Linked DNA regions of Homo sapiens: region 1 is linked to region 2. The links are contacts of gene promoters, found by promoter capture Hi-C in blood cells and fetal thymus (Javierre and others, 2016). All regions are on one chromosome and are shown on one strand. The core of a region is centred on a gene start or on the middle of the fragment in contact, and the rest is flanking DNA. Distances in the headings are between cores, read along the strand shown.

What was found. Contacts are between HindIII fragments. The CHiCAGO score rates a contact against its expected background, and 5 or more counts as called.
Region 1: a fragment that was not itself captured here is called in contact with the fragment with the promoter of ZNF471 in region 2 in 1 of 17 cell types (total B cells); the score reaches 5.1 in total B cells.

Annotation. Positions count from the first base shown.
Region 1 is chr19:51,952,534-51,956,878 of GRCh38, forward strand. The region is part of intron 1 of ZNF350-AS1 (ZNF350 antisense RNA 1); the gene reads left to right. Among named protein-coding and RNA genes, the nearest start is that of ZNF350-AS1, 5.6 kb to the left of the region's middle. The HindIII fragment of the contact is 5,571 bases long and covers 1-4,345 here.
Region 2 is chr19:56,506,512-56,510,939 of GRCh38, forward strand. ZNF471 (zinc finger protein 471) reads left to right here and starts at 1,344. Exons shown (of 5, transcript NM_020813.4): 1 at 1,344-1,409. The HindIII fragment of the contact is 1,838 bases long and covers 917-2,754 here.

The DNA.
Region 1 (4,345 bases), core at 767-3,266, 4.6 Mb before region 2:
GTCTCGAACTCCAGACCTCAGGTGATCCACCCGCCTCAGCCTCCTAAAGTGCTGGGATTACAGGCGTGAACCACCACCTTACATTCTGGCTGGGGAAAACAAAATAAAAACACAAGGAAACTAAAAAATGAGGTAGCTGCAAATTATGAGAGAAAACACACACTGCCTATATCCAATCAGGGAAATAAGCAGACACACTTGTTTTAAACAAATATCTTGGGAGAGGCAAGTCAGAATGTCAGATTTCGACTTCAACGTATCTGTGACACTCTTAGATGGTCATCCTGTTTTTAAAATGCATCCCTTAGGGAGGTGGGGGGGTCAGCCCCCCGCCCGGCCAGCCGCCCCGTCCGGGAGATGAGGGGCGCCTCTGCCCAGCCGCCCCTACTGGGAAGTGAGGAGCCCCTCTGCCCGGCCAGCCGCCCCATCCGGGAGGGAGGTGGGGGGGTCAGCCCCCCGCCCGGCCAGCCGCCCCGTCCGGGAGGGAGGTGGGGGGGTCAGCCCCCCGCCCGGCCAGCCGCCCCGTCCGGGAGGTGAGGGGCGCCTCTGCCTGGCCGCCCCTACTGGGAAGTGAGGAGCCCCTCTGCCCGGCCACCACCCCGTCTGGGAGGTGTACCTAACAGCTCATTGAGAACGGGCCATGATGACAATGGCGGTTTTGTGGAATAGAAAGGGGGGAAAGGTGGGGAAAAGATTGAGAAATCGGATGGTTGCGGTGTCTGTGTAGAAAGAGGTAGACATGGGAGACTTTTCATTTTGCTCTGTACTAAGAAAAATTCTTATCCTGTTGATCTGTGACCTTACCCCCAACCCTGTGCTCTCTGAAACATGTGCTGTGTCCACTCAGGGTTAAATGGATTAAGGGCGGTGCAAGATGTGCTTTGTTGAACAGATGCTTGAAGGCAGCATGCTCGTTAAGAGTCATCACCACTCCCTAATCTCAAGTACCCAGGGACACAAACACTGCAGAAGGCCGCAGGGTCCTCTGCCTAGGAAAACCAGAGACCTTTGTTCACTTGTTTATCTGCTGACCTTCCCTCCACTATTGTCCTATGACCCTGCCAAATCCCCCTCTGCGAGAAACACCCAAGAATGAACAATAAAAAAAAATAAAAATAAAAATAAAATGCATCCCTTTTCTTCATTCTGTATCATCAAACTAATTTTCCCAAAGCACCAATCTCACATTTAGAGAGAAACTTATTCTCAGTGTCCAACCTTTAGCCTCACTGTGGGCACATTCTCCTGTGCTTCTAAAGAAAGAGGGAAAGATGAGAAACAATGATCATTTGGAAAGTTTGCAACAGGCCAATGAACCATGTAGACCTCTCCAGAAGCAGATGTGCTTCTGAATAGGATAAGATGTGTTACTGAATGGGTGCTACTGCTGGTGCCCACATGTGTTGTCTGTCACCTTCAGTCACATTTGGCATGTAGTACCTACACAGATGTCAGATCTGAATTTTTCCCATTTCATTGTCCCTAATACACTGATCCCTTGTCATGTAACTAATAGCATCTTCTATAATTCTACAATTATGTCTTGGTTGGCATCACAAAAGGGGCCTAAGGGACCACCTTATTCCTTTTAAACCAAGACTCATGCCACCTTTACATATTTCTTAGAAAGGAGGATATATAATGGAGGAAGACAAGGCTCACCGATGAGTTCAAAACAAGGGGACGAAGAAAGTGAGGAATTAAGGTTTGCTCCTAAGTATTTTGCTTGAGTCAAGAGACTTTTTTTTTGAAAGATATATTTAACATTTTACATTATGTATATAATAGTCAAAAAGTCTTTTATCTCAGTCAATGAATATTTTATTTCAGTGAAAGGGTCTTATATATCGGGGACATCTGGCCTGGGATCTAGGAAACATGGAAGGAAATTAATCTGTAATAAAGTGTTAGTAATTAAGAGGTCAAGCTCTATGACTCAGTCTCCAAAGTCAACTTTCCTCAAGTCCTAATAACTTTTAGACGCCCCCAATATACAGACTATTTTCTTTTAGGCTCAACTTTCTTTACATAAGACATGTGAATCCACACGTCTATGCCTTCTACATTTTAGTGCAAGGATTAGTAAAAAGTAACTAATAGAGCGCTTTCCAGTTTGGTTAAAGGGAGTCCTTTAACCAAATATCATTTTAGATATCATTTCCAGTAGAAAAAAATCTCCTGGCTGAAGTTCATGGGTTTTAAGTTCTTTGTTTCCTGGGAGTTCACTATAAAAAGAGTCTTTTTTCAAATTATGATTTTTAGGTAGTTGTTTTATAAAGATGTCAGAAAAATTTAATATGTCTTCTTTTAGCATTATGGATTTATACTTTCCTGGGGATAGTTTCATGCATCTACCTGTTATTATCTCAATTAGGGAAAACTGATGTCTACCAAAAGGGGTGGATTTTAGGTTAAGGAAAACCAGTGGAAGGGCCCTTGGCCAAGACATGTGAAAAGCCTGGGTTAATTTTGCCAATTGAATTTTAATTATTTTGTTTATGCATTCTACTAATGCAGATGACTGAGGGGGATATGCAGAATGGAAGTGTTAAAGAATTGGCCATATTTTACGTAGTGACTGAATTACATGGGCAGTGAAATGAGTACCTCTGCCCCTATGAAGTTCTAGAGAGACTCCTCAAGTCTAAATAATTTTTCAAGGAGAATTTTACTTAATGTTAGGGCTGTTGCTCTTCTGCATGGAAATGCTTCTACCCAATGAAACTATACAGACTTTCATTACTAGAACATACTTGTATCCTTGTGATGGGGTAGTCGAATAAAATCTGCCACACCTCAAAGGGGGCCTCAGGTAAAGAAAAATGTTCTTAGGAACTATGTAAAGGTTTCCCTGGATTATATTTTGGGCAAATATGGCAGCAACTAAATGCTTTATGAGCTATAGTTGAAGAAACTTTTCAAAATACTATTTTTCTCAATAACCACTTTATCAGGGCTCCGGTGAATTAAATCAGTCCGTAGGGTTGAAAATGATGATTGTAATTCAGTAGGAAGTATAGGCAAGTTGTTTAGTCCACACCATATTTCACCTTTTTGTTTTATATTTTCTAATTCTGTTTTTAGAGCTCTGGATTGGGTTAATTTATGTCAAATTTGGGGGCTTCTTTCAAAGTTAATATGAATTGTTTTTATTGCCTAGATGTATTTAGGCAGTCCTCATTGTAACCTTATGAGCTAGCTGACTTCCTTCACTTTCTGGAGTATCTGATTTGGAATTTTTTGGAGTATCTGATTTGGATTTTAATAATAGGTAGTGAGTTTTATAATAATGTTTTTTTAATAATAAAGAGATAAGGTATCCATTTTTTATGGACTGGCCGGAAGAGGTTCAAGACCCTCTTTATTTATTTTCACAGTATTACAAAGTCACGAATGACTTCAAAGGTATATCTGTTGCCTGTATATAAATTAGCAGTTGTTCATTTTGCCAACTGACAAGCTCTAATTAGTGCTGTCAATTTGGCTTGTTCAGCAGAGATTGCTTCTAGAAGATAAGCACTTTCTATTTTTTCCCTTGGGATATTATAACATAACCTGCTTGTAAATTTGAGATTAATCTTTAAGTAAGATCTGTCTGTAAATCAAACCACACCAGTGTTACTAAGATGAGTTTCTTGCAGGTTTGTCCTAGGAGAGAAAAGCTGACCAGTTAAGGTTATGCAATCATGAGGCATTTCATCCAAATTTAGGGGGAGAAGAGTAGCAGAATTTAGGTTATTACATGTAGACATTGTCATATGAGGTCCAGAAAGAAGTAAGACTTCTAAAGGGACTAGCTTGCTAACTAAGTAATTCTGAGCATGAAGTGAATTTAGAAGTGCTTCCAGGCTGGCATGCTGGCTCATGCCTGTAATTCTAGCACTTTGGGAGGCCAAGGTGGGTAGATTCCTTGAACTCAGAAGTTCAAGACCAGCCTGGGCAACATGGTGAAACCCCATCTCTACTTAAAATACAAAAATTAGTCAGGGGTGGTGGCAGGCACCTATAGTCCCTGCTACTCAGAGGCTGAGGTGGGAGGATGGCTTGAGCCCAGGAGGCGGAGGTTGCAGTGAGCCAAAATCACACCACTGCAGTCCAGCCTGGGCAATAGAGCCAGACCCTGTCTCAAAAAAAAAAAAAAAAAAAAAAAAGATTATGCAATCACGAGGCATTTCATTCAAATTTAGGGGCAGTTTCATATGAGGTGAAGAAAGAAGTAGGACTTCTAAAGGGACCAGCCTGCTAACTAAATATTTCTGAGTATGGAGTGAATTTAGAAGTGCTTCCAGGCTGGGTGTGGTTGCTTATGCCTATAATCCTAGCACATTGCGAGGCTGAGGCAAGA
Region 2 (4,428 bases), core at 94-2,593:
AAAACCGAAAAGGCCTGAGTTCAAGCGGCTTCCAAGAAGGTAGACAAAAACACATCCTCGTGCTGGGAGGGTGGTGCACCCCAACTCCACGGGCACAGAAGTTCCTGCACTAGGGATTCTCTCGGACCTTGCCCTACATGTCTCTTCATCTGGCTATTTGTATCCTTTAAAATATCTTTTATAATAAACCAGTAAACATAAGTGTTTCCTTGAGTTCTGTGAGCTGCTCTAGCAAACTAATGGAACCCAAGGAGCCGGCTGTGGGAGCCCCAATTTATAGCACATCTCTCTGAAACACAGGTACAACAATCTGGAGTTTGGAATTGGCATGGGAAGTGGGGGACAGTCTTTTGGGACTGAGCTGTCTAACCTGTAGGATCTGATGTTTTCCAGGTAGCGTCAGAATTGAATTGGAGTAGCGGTCACCTGGCTGGTGTCTGCTGCAGACAGGTTTTTTTGACATGTTAAGACATTATAAGAGACAATAGAAAAAATGTATACGATACAACCTTCTCTGAGTTATATTTCTCCATAGCCCTTTTTACTGTTCATCAGACTGTTTATCTAACTCATGAATTTGTGGCTTGTCTCTCTCCGCTTCAAAGTAAATTACATAATAAGAGGACAGGGATTTTTTTTTCTCTGCTGTATCCCCCTGAATTGCTTTTCCTTATTTGTCTCACCTTCCAATACTAATTCTACAGTTCTCCTAGTCAGGGCTAGTCCCCTAAAACGGGGACCATTTCCATTTTGTTAAGGGGCTGAACGCGGTTCAAGCCTAGCAGATTGGTTCCAAAAACGTCGTGTTATTCACTGCCTCTGATCAGTGACATTCCCATTTGCAGCTGAAAGAGGTATTAATTCGCCAGAGTCACAACACGGTCGGGGTTCCTCGTCGCTGTCTTATTCCAAAATAAGCTTAACACAGAAAGATAATGACACTCCCACGGACTGGCACAGAAGGCCGCGCTCCGAATGACATCGCGATCACAGAGGCACAGACAGCGTCACAAAGCCCCACGCGTACTCACACCGAAGGCTCAGCCGTCGCGCGTTTCCCTCCCAGGCCCCAGGAACTAGTAACTAGGGACGCTTCTGGTCTCTAGGCGAGGAGAGGGGGAGAGCGCAATCTTTGCGCCTGCGCACACTCCTGCTCTTACCCGCCGGAACCCTGGGCCACGCCCGGCTCGCGTAATCACGCACTGCGCAGGCACCGCCCGCTCTGCTCTAAGGTCCCTCTCACTCCTTCAGCAGCCCGAGGACAATCCCCTCAACACTAGGCCACGCCTTGTCTCCGCCCCTCTCGTCCGACCCCTGGAGAGAGGCTGGCGCCTGCGCGATGGGGGGTTCCAGCGTCGACTCACGGAGTCCTTCGGATGAGAGCGTCTGGGTGCCAGACGAGGCCGGGGGTTTGTTTTGGGTGGTTTGGGAGTCCGAGCTCGAGGGCTGGGCCAGGAAGGGCAGGCGAGGCGGGCGGCTCCGACGCGGGTCGCGAAGGCCCAGCCGCGTCCTCTGTCCCCAGGACGACTACATTTCCCAGAGGCCAGCGGGGCGCGCGTACTCGAGTCTGCGGGGCGGAGGCCGCGGCTCGGGGCTGCTGGGCGTTCGGGGCGGCTTGGGGCGGCGGGACCACTGGAGTGAGCTGTGGGAGAGATGGGGGTGTGCCTGTGTGTAAAAGATCTGTCAGAGTGTGAGGCTCCGTGAGAGGGTGTGGTTTCTGTGTGTGTGTGTGTGTGTGTGTGACAGACCGAGAGTCCAGTGTGAGACCAGGGTATGTTCGTGTGTGACAGAGCGAGACGGGCCAGTGTGAGAGACCAGTGAGTGTGAGAGAGATAGGGATGTGCCTGCATTTGAAAGAGAGCGTGTGAAGCTCAGTGAGAGGTTGCGAGGTGTGTGGGTGTGTAAGTGTGTAACAGACCAGGTGTCCAGAGCGTGAGACCAGGATGTATTCGTGTGAGAGAGTGAGACGGGCTGGATGGAGTGTGAGAGACCAGTGAGTGTGAGAGATGGGCGTGTGCCTGTGTGTGAAAGGCCGGTCGGTCGGTGGGTGAGGCTCAATGAGAGGCCGGTGTGTGTTCGAGAGAGAGAAGAATCACCATGTATGCGAGACTAGACTGTGCAAGAACAGAGTGTGAGACTGTGGTATGTTAATGTGTGAAAGGGAGACCAGTGAGTGTGAGAAATGGGTGTTTTGGGTGAAAGACCCGTCAGTGTGTGAGGCCGTGTTATGTGTGTCTGACAGACTGAGAGAGACCAGAGTGTGAGACCAGGGTGTGTTCGTGTGTGAGAGACAACATAGCGTGAGACCAGTGAGTGTGAGAGAGATGAGCACGTGGCTGTGTGTGAAAGACCAGTCATTATGTGAGGCTCCTTGAGAGGCTGGTGTGTGTGTATGAGAGAGAGAAAGAGACTAAACTGTGAGAGTCCAAAGAGTGAGACTAGGTTATGTTGTTATGAGTTTGTGAGAGAGAGGGAGGCGATCAAAGTATAGGACAAAGTTATGTTTCCTGGCTTACGACTTCTAAGATCCTTGGAATCTCCAAAGTATTAAGTGTCTTTTTGCATGCTAATGATTGGTGGGCTGGCAGCCTGTAGGTTGATCACGGTAAGGGATGGTCACAAGAACAATCTAGGCAGGATTAGAGGGTTGGGATTACCTGCCCCATCCCTCAATCTCCAGGGAAAGGAAAGGGAGCCACAGGTTAAACTGATCATCAGTGGTCAGTGATTTAACCAGTCATGCCTACATTATGAAGCTTCCATAAAAACCCAAAAGGACTGGGTTCATCAAACTTCCAGATAGCTGAACACTGGAGGTTCCTGTAGGATGAGCCCCTTCCTATATAACCTTGTCCTATGCATTTCTTCACCTGCATCCTTTGTAATATCCTTTATTACTACAAACGTGTTTCCCTAAGTTCTGTGAGCTGCCCTAGCAAATTAATTGAACGCAAGGAGGGGGTCATAGGAACCCCGATTTATAGCTAGTCAGAAGCACAAGTAAAACAACCTGGGGTTTGCAACTGGCATTGGAAGTGGGGAGCAATTTTGTAGGGCTGAGCCCTCAACCTGTGGGATCTTATGCTGTCTCCAGGTAGATAGTGTCAGAATTGGGTTGCCCTAGAGGTCACCCACCTGGTATTCACTGGGTTGCCCTAGAGGTCACCCACCTGGTATTCACTGAAGAACTTATTGCTTGCCTGGTGTGTGTGTGTGTGTGTGTGTGTGTGTGTGTGTGTGTGTAGATCCCCACACATCTGGTCTTAGAACTGTTTTGTGTTGTGTGAGTGGAGTAGGAGAAACAGTTTGTTTTTCCTCTTTGTCACCTGAGTGTGTTATCAGGGACTGGATTGTGAGAATCCAGAGTGTGAGACCAGGGTATATCAATGTGTGAGAGAAATAGATGTGCCTGTGTGAAAGATGAACAAGTATGAGGCTCCCTGGAGTCTGAGAAAGATCATGTGTGTGTCTGAGTAAAAGCAAGAGACTAGACTGAGAGTTCAGTGATTGGGAGAGACTGGGGTATGTTGGTGTGAGTGTGTGAGAGACCAATGGGTATGTGAGAGACTAGAGTATGTCTCTGTCTGGACTGGTAGGTTGTGAGAGGGTGTATCACAGTATGAAAAAGATTGGAGTGAGAGTGACCAGTATGTATTTTGTGTGCATGAGATAAAGCAGTTGGAATATGAGAGATCAGAGTGTGTTTGTGTATCTGTGTGAGACACTGGAGCATTTGAGTAACTGAGGCCTCTTTGAAAGATACCATTGAATGTGTATGTATGAGAGACCATCATGTTTATATGTGTGAAAGAGGGAGAGAAAGACTAGTGATGTGGTTGTGTGAGAGACCAAAATGGGTGAGAAAGAAACTATGTGAACCATGGTGTGTTATCCAAAAGGCTTTACAAATATAACCTCTGTGAGGTTGTGAAGCATGCATGTGTGAGTGAGACAGAGATAAGGGACAGTGAGCTGTGTGTGTGAGAGAAGTAAGATTGGGGGTATGTGTGAAGGTGTTGGTGAATCACCACGTGTGCTTATATTCATGTCCTCAGGCAATGGAAATGTGACTGTGTATATGTGCTTGTTTTGGGGTGCTTGTGATTGTGTCCTCCGTGTGACCATGAAACCTGTGTTAGTGTTTGTATGTCACCCTGTATACCCATAATTGTGGCCCTGTATGACTGCTGTGTATGGAGAGACTACTTGGAAGATTGATAGGATTGGATTCTTTATGAGTGTGGCTGTTTGGAATTGTGTGTTGCCGGGATAGGAAATGTGGAATAGAATTCCTGTCCCCAGTCCAAGGGTTTCAGTAAGAAGCAAAGCTGGGGTGACTGAAGCTCCTAACTGAAGCAGGAGACACCCTCACTTCTGTGTGACAGGAGGGTAATTAAGGGGCTGGGACAGAGGTGAGAGTGAAAGTGG